5 separate regions of the Homo sapiens genome follow, and all the other regions are linked to region 5. The links are contacts of gene promoters, found by promoter capture Hi-C in blood cells and fetal thymus (Javierre and others, 2016). All regions are on one chromosome and are shown on one strand. Each heading gives the region's core, a stretch centred on a gene start or on the middle of the fragment in contact. The rest is flanking DNA. Distances are from core to core; before and after follow the strand shown.

Region 1 (2,700 bases), core at 82-2,581, 330 kb before region 5:
CATAGACCTAAATGTAAAATCTAATGGTATAAAGCTTCTAGAAGACAGCATAAAAGAAATATTCTTAAGTTTGGGTGAGGCAGAGGTGTCTTAAATATGACAACAAAAACACAATTCATAAAATTAAAAACTTGATAAGTTGGACTTTATTAAATTTAAAATCATTTCTCTTTAAGACATTAAGAGAATGAAAAGTAACATCAGAAGCAGAATATTTGCTCTCTCTAGATATCTCTGTATACTACATATATCAAATAAGAGCCTTATATCCAGATTATAAAAAGAACTATCAAAGTTCAATAATAAGGAAACAACAATTTATAAAACAGGCAAAGAATTTGAACAGACGCTTCATCATAGATGATATGTAGTTGGCAAATAAGCACATTAAAAGAGGTTCATAGTGATATGCAATTAACATCATTTTTAGGATATACAAAATAAAGCTACAGTAAAATACCACTATTGACCTATAAGAATGAATAAACAAAAAAAAAAGCAAAAGAATACAGTTGACAATAGCAAGTGCTGTCAAGGATGCAAAGCAACTGAAATTCTCATACATTGCTGGTGGGAATAAAAAATAGGGAATAGTTTGGGCATTTTTAAAGTTAAACCTGTATTTACTCCTGGAAAGCTTTCTTCTTCTATTACAGTTCTGTTTTTGTTTTTTTAGGGACAGGGTCTCACCCTGTCACCCAGTTCAACAGTTCAATTATAGTTTTAAATGATAGTTACATTGTTTGCTATTTCTTCTTCATGTACTCCAGTTATACCAGTGTTGCTTTGGACTGTCTTCCCTGTCAATCACTTTCTTCCTGACCCATTTCACTTCTTTATTTCATTTCATTTTCTTGCTTGTTTGCCTTTGTTCAGTGCCCATATTAAATTTCCATCTGAGTACATTCTCCTTTGGGTGCTATAGCGAGGTGATGATGACCACGCCCACCCCCACACCCCAAAAATGTCTACTCAGAACCTGGGAATATGATCTTATTTGGAAAAAGGGTCTTTGCAGGTGTAATTAAGTATCTCAAGATAAAATCATCCTAGGTTTTCTGGTTGAGCCCTAATTCCAATTCCAAGTATCCTTAGAATAGAAGGAGAGAAGACACATAGAAACGATGGTAATGTGGGAAGGAAGGTGGAGATTAGAGTGACGCATCTATAAACCAAAGAACAACAAGGATTGCTGGCAGCCCCCAGAAGCTATGAAGGAGAGATAGAGCAGACCCTTCCCTCAGAGCCTCGGGAAGAAACAAGCCCTGCCAGCCCCTTGATTTGAGACCTCTGGCCTCCAGAACTGTGGGAAAATAAATTCCTATTGTTTCAAGCTCTCAGTTTATAGTAATCTGTTAAGATAGCCCTAGGAAACCAATATAAGTACCCTCTTAAAATTTATGTTTCAATCCTAAGATTATTTTTCTTTTTCTTTTATTTTCTTTCTGAGTTCAATCAACACACTGTTCATTACTTCCCATTTTTTTCTAAATCCATTTATATTTTAATTTCTGATTAAAGATAGTTTTTCAGGCCAGGCGCAGTGGCTCATGCCTGTAATCCCAGCACTCTGGGAGGCCAAGACAGGTGGATCACTTGAGGTTAGGAGTTTGAGACCAGTCTGGACAACATGGTGAAACCCCGTCTCTACTAAAAATACAAAAATTCCCTGGGTGTGATGGCGCCCACCTGTAATCCCAGCTACTTGGGAGGCTAAGGCAGGAGAATCTCTTGAACCTGGGAGGTTCAAAAAATAAATATAGTTCTAAAATTTATGTTTGAACCTGGGAGGTTCAAATATATACATATATACACACATATATACATATATATACATATATACACATATATGTATATATATGTATAGCTTTTCACATGTCTATACTTGTTTGAGGTTATTTGAGTCTGGAGTGTAGCATTGCAGTTTTCCTCTGCTTCATGGTCATTTTTGTATTTACCTCCCTTGGAGTGGTGGAAAATTTTTATCACTTGAGGTGTGTTGAGTCTCTTTCTTTAAGAAGCTTTGCATAGATTTATTCCATTTTTTGTAATTCTTTTTGTGGATGTGGGCTAATTTACAAGATTCTTCATTTAATGGTGCCCTCTTCTGTCAATGTGGTGAAGTACAGCTTCTTTAATGATTGTGTTTTGGTACTTGGGGGAGGAATAGTGTGTCTTCCAGGAGATATCCAAGCCTGTTATGCACACCAAAAAATATAAAGCTCTATCTTAAAGGCTTTACCTTTCAAATCCAGTATAGTTGAAATTTATTGTCTCTGAAGGAAGAACCTCCAAGAGCACACAACACGGTGTCCTTGCATTACTGTCAGGTGATAACTTCACATTTCCTTATATGGCATGTTTCCTCTGAGCCATCCATTCCCACCTTCACCCTGCTGCCTCCTCCCATGTGCCCTCTCTCTCTAAAAACCACGTTCTGGTATGTCCCACAAAAGCAAGGAGATGTAAACTAAGAAAGAAGCAGTGTGAGGGAAAAAGGAACAAGATTCACAGAGGAGCAAAGGAAATTCCTAAGATGATGATGAAATGAAGTTCTAGGAGAACACTTGTTTAATGTAGGGTTAGAGATCACCAGTTCAGGAGAGACAGCGCCCCCAGAGACTCCCCTCCAAAATGAAGCTTATAGGCCAGGCGTGGTGGCTCATGCCTGTAATCCCAGCACTTTGGGAGGCCAAAGCG
Region 2 (2,700 bases), core at 130-2,629, 310 kb before region 5:
TATTGAGACTTGTTTTGTGGCTTATGATACAGTCTATCTTGGAGAATGTTCCATGTTCTGATAAGAAGAATGTATATTCTCCAGTAGTTGAGTAGAATGTTCTGTAAATATCTGTTAAGTCCATTTGTTCTAGCATATAGTTGAAGTCCACTGCTTCTTTGTTAACTTTCTGTCTCAGTGATCTTTCTAGTGCTGTCAGTGGAGTATGGAAATTTCCCACTATTACTGTGTTGCTGTCTATCTCATTTCTTTGATTTAGTAGTGATTGTTTCATAAATCTTGGAACTCTGGTGTTAGGTGCATATAAATTTATGGTTGTAATATCTTCTTGTTGGACTGATCCTTTTATCATTATATAATGTTATTCTTTGTATTTTGTTTGCTTGTGTTTGGCTGTTGTTGCTTTAAAATCTGTTTTGTCTGATATAACAATAGCTACTCTGGCTTACTTTTGGTTTCCATTTGTGTGGAATATCTTTTTCCACTCCTTTACCCTGAGTTTACATGAATTTTTATGTGTTAGGTGAGTCTCTTGAAGACAGAAGATATCTAGTTTATGTTTTTTTTTAATCCATTCTGCCATTCTGTACCTTTTAAGTGGAGCATTTAGGCCATTTACATTCATACATTCATTACATTTTATAGGCCTTATAGTTTTATGCTTTCAGGAAGTTCTATTTTGGTGCATATCAAGCTTTTCTTTCACAATTTAAAACACCTTTTAGCATTTCTTGTAGTGCTGGTTTGGTAGTGGCAAATAACCCCAGCATTTGTTTGTCTGAAAAAGACTTTATTTTGCTCTAATTTATGAAGCTTAGTTTTGCTGGATACGAAACTCTTGACTGACAATTATTGTGTTTAAGGGGTCTAAAGATAGGACACCCAATCTCTTCTAGCTTGTAAGGTTTCTGCTGAGAAGTCTGTTATTAGCCTGATATGTTTTCCTTTATAGGTTACCTGATGCTTTTGTCTCACAGCTCTTAGAATTCTTTCCTTCATATTAACTTTAGATAGCCTGATCACTTTTTGCCTTGGTGATGATCTTTTTGCAATTAATTTCTCAGATGTTCTAGGAGCTTCCTGTACTTGGATATCTAAATCTCTAGCGAGGCCAGGAAACTTTTTCTCAATTATTACTTCAAATACGTTTTCCAAACTTTTATCCTTCTCTGTTCCCTCAGGAACAACAACTCTTCTTAGGTTTGGCCATTTTACGTAGTCCCATATTTCTTGGAGACTTTGTTCTTTTGATTCTTTATCTTTATCTGATTGGGCTAATTCAAAAGCCTTGTCTTCAAGCTCTGAAATTCTTTCTTCTATTGTTCTAGTTCATTGTTGAAACTTTCCACTGTATTTTTATTTCCCTAAGTGTGTCTTTCATTTCCAGATATTCTGATTAGTTTTTCCTTATATCTATCTCTCTGGAAAATTTCTCATCCACATCCTGTATTGATTTTTAAATTTCTTTATGTTGGTTTTCACCTTTCTCCAGTATCTCCTTGAGCAGCTTAATAATAAACCTTCTGAATTCCTTATCTGGTATTTCAAAGATTTCATCTTGCTTTGGATCCAGAGATGGGGAGCTAGTATGATCTTTTCAGGGCATTATAGAACCCCATTTTGTCATATTACCAGAATCTCTTTTCTGGTTCCTTCTCATTTGGGTAGACTATTTCTTGTAATTGTTCTTGAATTTATTTTTGGTTTCATTTTTTTTAATTTCTTTTTTTTTCTCTTAAGGATGTGACTTCAATATTTATAGTTTATTACAGCTGAATTTGGTTCTTGGTGCTTTTATGAGTGAAGATTCTGTAAGAATTCCTTGCTTATAGAGAGTCTTTGTGTGATGGCTGTCTCAGATGCTACTTGTAGTATGTATGTACTTGGTATAGGCAAGTTCATTGTCTCCTGTGGGATTGGAATGGTAGGGGTCTTTTGAAGCTTATCTCATTTCCCTGTGTTGTGCACTCATATTTATTTATTTTTTCTCCATTATTTTATTTACTGAGTTAATGGCTCAAGCTTCAGGACAGTAGGGGTGGAATTGTATCCCTGGGTAGGAACCGGTTGTAGCTAAAGCAAGTGGGTAAATGCAATACCCAATGGTGGGCAGAGATCCCAGCCTTGATTAAGGTTGCTTGGGGAGCTCCCAAATAGATGCACTGAGGTCTTATCAGAGTGAAGGTTGGGAGCTATCTCAGCTCCCCTGCCAGGCCAGCAGAAAAGCTATCCACCTCCCAGCCTCACACCTGTCCCAGTGTTCCAGCTATTCAGATTATACAGGCACTTCTTTTTGTCTGTAGGAATATTGGTGTTTCAAGTAGAGAGAAATTGTGAGTCTGCTTCTTGTGCAAGCCCAAACCTGGGGAATGCTCCTTCTGTGGGGATGCAGTTGCCCTGAAGTGTTCCAGGAAGGCTGTCTGTAGGTGAATCCACACAGAGTTCCCGTGAGAGAAGCCCCAGCTGTGTCTGCAGTGGTGGACAAGTGGGGAAAGAGGACCCTTTCTCTAAGACCTTTCATGAGCACCAAGCCTGTCTGACTGTTGGATAGAGACACAGATGTCCCCTGCTGAGTCCAGTACTGCAATTGTGTCTCTGCTGAAAGAAACTTTCCCACAGGAATGATCTGGGACTCAAGGCCTGTCACCCAGATTATTTTGTCCCACACGGTGTTCCCGTGATGTGGTACTCTCCCCCTTT
Region 3 (2,700 bases), core at 80-2,579, 350 kb before region 5:
GTGAGCCACTGCACTCAGCCTAAAGTCTCCTTTTTAATTTAAAATATTTTATCCACCTTTATATTAATTACATGCTTAAATGGTATTTTAAATAAATCAGATTAAATAAAATATATTCAAATTAATTTTACCTGTTCCTATTTATTTTTTAACATGACTCAGAAAATTTTAAATTGTAACTATATGTGGGGCTCACATTATATTTCTTTGGGAAAACACTATTACAAAAGTTTTGAGATATTGGAAACTTCTTATAATGTTCAGAAAAACTGCCTTCCCCACCACCCACCCCACCCAAAAAACTACTCACATTGACTCTTATCTCCCAGAAAATACCACTACCTACTCTTATCCTATGCGATCCATATCAAACAACCTTACTAACCCAGCTTAACTCAAAGGCCTTGGCAGTTAAAGAACCACAGCCTAATTACAGATGGTCTAGGGCTGCAGAGAAAGGCTCAAACTTCCCTCAGCTGTTGCATTAGAACCAACTCAGTTGCTGGCAGACCTATCTCTACTGCTTTGGCTGTTTGATTGTCCAGTTTTGCATAAGTGAACTGTAAAACTATAGAGAAAGGAAGAAAGATGTCATCAGGGAGGGTGGTCACCTCACCAACCTTCACTCCTAATTATATTGTTACAAACTCTGGCACTGCAGCATCCTTGGGCTGACTTCTTTTTGTCAGTCACACCACTTTAAAAAGTAATTAGCTTTAGTGAAGAAATTGCCGATGCTCTAGTCTGAAGTGTAGATAGGGACAGAAAATTACCTGTAAATTTAAGCTTTCACTTGAGCAGTCTCCATTAGTTATGGAATATAAAATGGGCAGACTCCAATATCTCGATCTTTAGTGTTTTGAATGGCTCTCAAAAGCAGTGTGATGAGGGAAGATGTTAGCTTTACATCAGTGTGTACTGGATGCAGTCCTAATCCAGTCCTCCTAGAGCCTCTAGTTCCATGGAAAGAGTTCTTAGTCTGTTAGTTCACATGAGTGCCAATTGTTCAAAAGAACCTGGCATCTCTCTTGCTCTGTCTCTCGCCATGCGGCATGCCTGCTCCTCCTACACCTTCTACCAAGAGTTAAAGCATCAGATGCCTAGCAGATGCTGGTGCCATGCTTGTACCACCTGCAAAACCATAAGCCAAATAAAACTCGTTATAAGTTGCCCAGCCTCAGGTATTCCTTTATAGCAAGGCAAAATGGATCAACACACTTGGTTTATGTCTTCCTTTGGAAAGATAAGGCTGTTTGTGAGCTACCTCACCCACGAGTGTGTTTTGCCTATTCACTGCTTACCCGTCTGTATTAGTCTTTCATGCTGCTGATAAAGACATACCCGAGACTGGGCAATTTACAAAAGAAGGAGGTTTATTGCGCTTACGGTACCACATGGCTGGGGAGGCCTCACAATTATGGCAGAAAGCAAGGAGGAGCAAGTCACATCTTACATGGATGACAGCAGGCAAACAGAGAGCTTGTGCAGGGAGACTTCCATTTTTAAAGCCATCAGAGCTCATGAGACTTATTCACTATCACAAGAACAGCACGGGAAAGACCCGCCCTCATGATTCAATCACCTCCCACTGGGTTCCTCCCACGACACGTGGGAGTTGTGGAAGTTACAATTCAAGATGAGATTTGGGTGGGGACACAGCCAAACGATATTACCGTCCCATCATGAGGCTCAGTCTCAGCTATGCTTCTGAACTGCTTTGCCTCAGGAGCCACAGTATTTGACAAAGCCTTAGAAGCTGGATCTCCACCCCAGTAGACACCTGCAGGTGACTGAAATGAGATTGCCCCATCAGGGTGGGAGGATCTACCATCACACAGCCATGTAATTTCTTAAGAATTTAAGAAAGCTTTAAGCGAAAAAGCCTTGGCAAGTTGAGTTGGGAAAGAATGTCTACCACTGGCTCAAATTACTGCCTTTCTGAGGCTTCCCTTTCACCCAACATGCAAAGGTCACTCTTACGTGCAACAGCACCTTTCAACTGATCAGGTCAGCACTGTGAGATAGAATTGAGGTGTGAACACCACAGAATGCAAAATATTTGGGAATCCCTGGAAGCATAACAGAGGTGGGAACTGGGAGTTGAAGCTCAAGCATTCCTCCTGGCACTGAGAAAGGCTTGGTCTTGTCCTGATCTCTGGCTTTTGGTAGTGAAGCCATTTGGGCCTGTAGTTTTGTTACAAGATTTTTAACTACACAATTCAACATTTTTAATAGACATAGAACTACTTAGGTTATGCACTTACATGAGCTTTGGTGGTACCCATCTCATAAGGAATCGGTCCATTTCCTTACAAGACTTCGATGACTAAGTTGACTTTATGGGCATACAATAATTTGTGATATTATTCTATCCATTTAATGTCCTGAGACCTGTAGCATTGTCCCCTTTTTCATTGCAGATGTTGGTAATTTGTGTCTTCTTTTTTTTTTTTTTTTTTTATCAGTCAGGCTAAAGTAGTTTGGGCACTACTGACATTTTGGGCTGGATAATTCTTTGTCGTATGAGGCTCACCTGTACGTTATAGGATGTTCAGCAGCATCCCTGGCCTCCACCCTCTAGATCTAGCAGCACTCCTCCAGTGGTGACAACCAAAAATATCTCCAGATACTGCCAAATGTCTCCAGAAAGGCAGAATTGCCCCTAGTTGTATACCACTGCTTTAGACTACTTTATCTCTG
Region 4 (2,700 bases), core at 201-2,700, 260 kb before region 5:
GTGGATTTGATTCCATAACCCATGTCCTTTCCAGTACAACATGCACAGAACTGCAAGAAGCTCTGGAAAATAGATTTCACTGAGCAAATAGAGACTGAATAGTCTCTTTATTTCTGAGTAAACACCTACTTTGTTTTCTCAGAATTTATTGTGTAACTGAATGGAAACTGGAAGCACTTTGAACTCAAATAATGTCTGTATCTTTTGGAAAACATTACATTCTTTCCCCAATCACTGGGTTTATTTACAATAATAAATCAAAGCAATCACCTCCGGGGTTTTGCTAACCCACTAGGGGTCTGAGGTCCCTTCCCATGGATCCCGCTCCTAAGGATATCAGGAAAAGGTAGTAGGAGTACTGGACTGGGTGTTCACAAAACCTGGGTTCTTATCCCCATTCTTGGTGACCTTGGGCAGGTCACTTAATATTTCTGCCCCTGAGTTTTTCAGAATAATTATCTCTGCCCTATGTGATTTGCAGAGTGTTGGGAGGGCAAAACAAGAGCATGGTATTCATTGGATTTGAACTAGATAAGCAAAAAGGCACAGAAGGTATTCTGAACAGAGACAGGAGAGCAGCAGCTCAGCCTGGGGGCCATGTGGAGGTGATACGGGTAGTGAAGACAGCAGTGTGAAGCCACAGCCATGACTCAGCAGCCCTGAGCTCCAGGCTCTTCCCTGGGAATTCTCCATGAACTGACATCCAGCTCATTCCTGGAATCCATTGGCAGTACCAACCAAAGCAGTGCTTCCACCATCCCAGACCTCAGGAACCAGTGACTCTGGGAACGATGGGCTCCTATCTTGGGCTGCTGAAGTTGTGGAAATGATTAAATGTACACAGTGGAAGAAGAATTCAGATAGAAGATCATGAAGTGAAGGGTGGAAGCTTGTTGTATTACCAGAAACTAAGGAATTCAATTTCCGCAGACACCCAACACAGGTAATCACATGACCATATGACAACTGAAGAAGAACTAGAGAAAAGAAGGAAAGTAGCATTTAAGGAGGGCCTACTACGTGGTAGTCACTTTCCTTGCAATATCTCATTGAACCTTTACTACAACACTATGATAGAGATATTGACAATCCTATTTTAGGAAATGGAAAAAACTGAGACTTAGCAAGGTTATAGGGTTTCTCCAATGTCAACAGCAAGTCAGTTCTAGAACCAGAATTCCAGCCCAGGTCTGTCTGACTCTAAAAGTTCATCATCTTTCCACCCAAGGACATGCATCTGTGATAAGGGACAGTGAGAAGTCAGTGTGATCAAGTCGGACTCAAGGTCACTAGAGAGGCAACTTCGTCTGTCAGACAGTCGCAGACAAGCCACCTTCACCATCAGTGCTGCACCTGCCATCCCTGCTGTGCACTGAGTGGTAACACTCAGGTACTTTCCGTATTGGTAAGGTTTTACAGACCTATTATACTCCCGTGAGATAAGCACAGCAGATTTTATGAGCTCCATTTATAGCTGAGTATAGTGAGGTTTGGAAATACAAATAATTTTCAAAGTTGCATGAGTGATTTGGAAATAGTGGACTTAGAACCTGACTTTCACATGTCTGAATGAAACAAGATGGCAGGAAGGGCCTGATTCACTGTCACAGGAGTGGAGGCTCAGGCAGCAGCTGCCCAGTACCTACTCTCCAAGGTGTGGTTTCCCAGGAAAGAAGAGTTCCTCCAAACAGCTGGGTCTAGCGACAGTCTTGCAACCATCAGACAGCCTCAGCCTTCACAGCCTGTGCTCTGTCATGGCCTCAGGGCACTCATCTGAAATCTCACATAAGGGCTCATGTGGTCCCTTGACACCACCCTTGGTTGAGGCTCCAAGTCCACCAGGTGGCTGGAGTTTCTGGTCACAGGCACTTATAACTGCAAGACCCTTTCTCATCTCTCAAATTGTCTGAAGAAGGCAGAGGCTGAAGAAACTTTCTCTAAATGGCGCAACCGAGGGAAAAGAGTAGCAAACTTTTCTCTACAAATGTTTTGGAAAAACACACTAAGCTTTGAATTTTCCAATTACACCAGACTGTGTTAAGCCTCCAGGTGTCTGCACTGCTGCACTCTTTCTCCTTGTCCATGTGCCTGCCAGCTCTGACAGCATCACCTTTCTGCTTCTGAAGGTCAGTGGAGGCCACCTCCCCTTCCGCACTATCCCTGCTCCCCTTTGCTGCCAGCCAGTGCTTTGTAATGCTTGCTTTTCATGCCTGACTTTGCTGCTCAAGGAAAACTCCTCCTGGTATCCTTTCTGAAACCCTAGTACCCAGCACAGTGCCTGGACCAGAGCGGATACTCAATGAAAGATTATTGAACTGATGCAATTGTATCAGAGAATCTTTACAATCATCACGAGGCTTCTAGAGGAAGAACACAGCGACTTGCATCATCACCTTCAAAGAACTGGCCAACACTGAACCGGCAGAAATCAATGCTCAAAGCAAGGAAATCCTGTCCCGACCCACCCGTCATGACATACTCAGTACCAGTTGCATTCGTGGCAGGTAGTAGGTACTCAGAATGGTTGACTGAAATACAGAATAACTTAAATCTTATATAGTTAATAGAAATGGACAAGCCATTTCTCTACACCCCCCAATGAAACCCACATTGAATCAGCAGTTAAAGAGGACTAAAAAATACATACAAAAAGAAAACAGCAAAGCTGGAGCCAGATACTGAGATCCTGAGATTCCCTGC
Region 5 (2,700 bases), core at 55-2,554:
TTATGCCCAAATAATCAAGTGATCAGCAATGAGTATTCTCTTCATTTCAGGTCAGTCCCGAAAGATGATTGCCATCATTTCACTTTAAGGAATACAAACAGGTGCTAGTCCCCCAGAGGTTACTTTCCCTTTTATGGTTCATGTCTATGTAGAACAATTTCCTAAAAATGCCAGTTTCTTTTACCTTTAATACAGGGAATAATAGCTCTCTGCTGAATAGCGGAAGGCTTCTCAAAACCGTAAGCATAGATGCCACGAAGGAGAGACTCCTTTAAATTCATATCATCAAAGTTATCAACAATCTCATTCCAGTTGCTCTGTAAGTTAGAAAAAATAATGCACGCATAAATGAGATGAACACACTCACCTTTCCAAAGCTTCAAGATCCACAACCGTTTCTTACCTCGATGACACCATCGGGGTCCATTCCCTCTGGGCCGCCATGTTCTCTGCTGACAAGAATACTGCAGTCAGACACCCCTTCCAGGCCACCTCAACTGCACCTTAAGCGCATAGCCCTTTGCAACCCGTCTCAGCACGTTAGCCTCCCCTGCACAAGCTAAAGCAGCAGCCTCAGGGCGAATATCCACACTGTGCGCCTTCCCTAAAGGTTGGGGCCTGCGGATGCCCGGAAAGGCAGCCCCCCAGGCCCGAGCGCATGGCGATCCCGTTTCAACTGCGGAGCGTCTCGCGAGAGCTCGGAGCGCCGAACTCCGCCCCCAACAATGCGCAAGCCGGGTGATTGACGCGGGCGGAGCGGCCTGGCGAGGGCGATGCCAACGGTTCACCGGCACCGGTCCTGTCCCGTCGCCTCCGCGCCGTGGCCGAGTGGAGACCGCTGCCTCCAACCCTTCCCCAAGTAAAGCCTAGGACCCTCCCCCAACTCGTGTGGATGACCGAAAATAAAGCTTCGGGTCCTGGTTACAGTGTACCGAACTCGGACTGCGCCACGGCTTTTTACTCCATGTTTCCCGTGCTCTACACTGGGAAGGAAAGCAGCCGAAGTTTCGTAATGTCTTAGAGAGGAAAAACGCCCTTTAGCCACTGCTTTCGCACCACCGTCCTATCTCCCCACAATCCGGGCCCTACCCATCATGGAAGCTTCTGGAAGGGCACAGGAGTGCTGTACCCTAAGAAAACGTCCATTAATTTAGAGTTTTTGCCTCCGTGCCATCCACTATCATCTCCCCTGGCGCCCTATGACCTTCACTACAGACCGCGACCGCCAACAGACTGCATACCTGTTATAATCCGCGGAGCCACCAGACATGATCCGAAAAACCACTCAGCGCCCGACTGAAAAGACAGCGGCGCCCAACCACCCGTTTTTTATAGGCTCGTGGCCGGAACCCGTTTCTTGCGGAGGAATTTTCTCGCCGTGCTTCGGTCAGCTACAAAATTGTGATCCTGGGGTCGTTACCTCGGATAAAATCCTAAGCAAGTTGGTAGAAAAACCCAAATGTGGTAATTTCTCGATATTACAGGGTCGCTGGAAATCCTAGGGCCCGGGGTTGGGTTGGGACTCTTTACCTCGCGGCGGAAGAATATAGCTGCGGAGTTAGTTAAACCTCGCTTTCCCCGCCCGCCCTGCTCCTACGGGGTTTCCGCGTCCCTGACGCAGAGGCGGGCCGGGGGAGCCGCGCCGGAGCCGGAGGCGGAAACCGGAGATGCTGTTCGTCGGGCGGCCGGGGCTTCCCGCGGGTGACAGGTCCCGGCTCGCGGCTCGCTGCCGGCACTCAGGTGCGGGAGGGGAACTCGGTTATTCCGCTTGCTCCCACCGCTGTTTAATTCCACAATGAAGACCTGCCTGGCATTTAGCCCGACCGTTAACATCCATTCAGATCTTGGAAACGTAAAATTCCTGCTAGGGAAAATGTCGGCCACCCAGCGAGTCCCGGGAAGTCCGGTTTACCGGTACATTTTGCAGCGCGAGAAGGAAAAATGGAGTGTCATTTGCAGATGTCTCTGGAGTGGCCAATTCTATTCTCATATCATTTCCGGTCTCTCGCTTTCTTTTTAAGAGTGTTACTGATTTTAACCTAACAGGTGTGAGGAATGCCTGAAAAAAATCATAAACTTTTGCAAATGGATAGAAACTAAGCAGTAATTTTCCTTGGAACGCACGAATTTAAATGGACGCTTTGGCAGATACAGCTCTGTGCCGCTTTGGGACTACATCGGTTTTGATTCCGTCTATATTGGTCATTTTTTAAAGGCTGTAGACTTTGCCGATATATAGTGAAATGTTGATTTATTGAAATTCAGAGCAATAATATCCTTGCTGCGTAAACTGCACGGGTCTTTAAGCTCCAGACGTTTTCAATTAGCCCCATCTCAGGTCTCTCGACAAAAACAAAAAACAATATATGTAGTCATTTAACTTTAAAATACAACCCTACCCATGGTGCAAAATATCATCGAGACTATCAGGGTAACATTTTCTCATATTTCAGAAGGCCAACTTAAAGAATCATTACTGGGAAAGCTGACTCAATTTTCTATATTATAGAAGATATTCGGTTCTAAATACTACTTTTTTAATACAAAAATTATTTATTTATTTGAAAATTCTTATCGTGCCAGGAACTAGGACAAAGATTAAGAATACCAAGATGGCAAAGTGGGCCAGGCCCTCAGTCCAGTGGTACTGCTCCTCATTCATCCCTCTGTAATGTTCGAAATCCAGATTTGAGGTGATGC

Evidence for each region. Contacts are between HindIII fragments. The CHiCAGO score rates a contact against its expected background, and 5 or more counts as called.
Region 1: a contact is called between a fragment that was not itself captured here and the fragment with the promoter of EIF4A2 in region 5, in 1 of 17 cell types (total B cells). The highest score is 5.2, in total B cells.
Region 2: a contact is called between a fragment that was not itself captured here and the fragment with the promoter of EIF4A2 in region 5, in 1 of 17 cell types (total CD4 T cells). The highest score is 5.1, in total CD4 T cells.
Region 3: a contact is called between a fragment that was not itself captured here and the fragment with the promoter of EIF4A2 in region 5, in 3 of 17 cell types (naive CD8 T cells, activated CD4 T cells and non-activated CD4 T cells). The highest score is 6.6, in naive CD8 T cells.
Region 4: a fragment that was not itself captured here is called in contact with the fragment with the promoter of EIF4A2 in region 5 in 2 of 17 cell types (activated CD4 T cells and total CD4 T cells); the score reaches 5.4 in activated CD4 T cells.

The regions. Positions count from the first base shown.
Region 1 is chr3:187,112,804-187,115,503 of GRCh38, reverse strand. No RefSeq gene overlaps it. Among named protein-coding and RNA genes, the nearest start is that of RPL39L, 25 kb to the left of the region's middle. The HindIII fragment of the contact is 1,384 bases long and covers 640-2,023 here.
Region 2 is chr3:187,094,931-187,097,630 of GRCh38, reverse strand. No RefSeq gene overlaps it. Among named protein-coding and RNA genes, the nearest start is that of RPL39L, 43 kb to the left of the region's middle. The HindIII fragment of the contact is 1,128 bases long and covers 816-1,943 here.
Region 3 is chr3:187,134,244-187,136,943 of GRCh38, reverse strand. All of the region lies in intron 1 of RPL39L (ribosomal protein L39 like), which reads left to right. Among named protein-coding and RNA genes, the nearest start is that of RPL39L, 3.9 kb to the left of the region's middle. The HindIII fragment of the contact is 1,081 bases long and covers 789-1,869 here.
Region 4 is chr3:187,038,948-187,041,647 of GRCh38, reverse strand. All of the region lies in intron 3 of ST6GAL1 (ST6 beta-galactoside alpha-2,6-sialyltransferase 1), which reads right to left. Among named protein-coding and RNA genes, the nearest start is that of RPL39L, 99 kb to the left of the region's middle. The HindIII fragment of the contact is 1,118 bases long and covers 892-2,009 here.
Region 5 is chr3:186,782,181-186,784,880 of GRCh38, reverse strand. EIF4A2 (eukaryotic translation initiation factor 4A2) reads right to left here and starts at 1,304. Exons shown (of 11, transcript NM_001967.4): 1 at 1,242-1,304; 2 at 404-449; 3 at 185-317. The coding sequence starts at 1,270. It overlaps SNORD2 (small nucleolar RNA, C/D box 2), which reads right to left and starts at 85; the gene lies at 16-85. RefSeq lists an enhancer at 399-628. The HindIII fragment of the contact is 20,029 bases long and covers 1,104-2,700 here.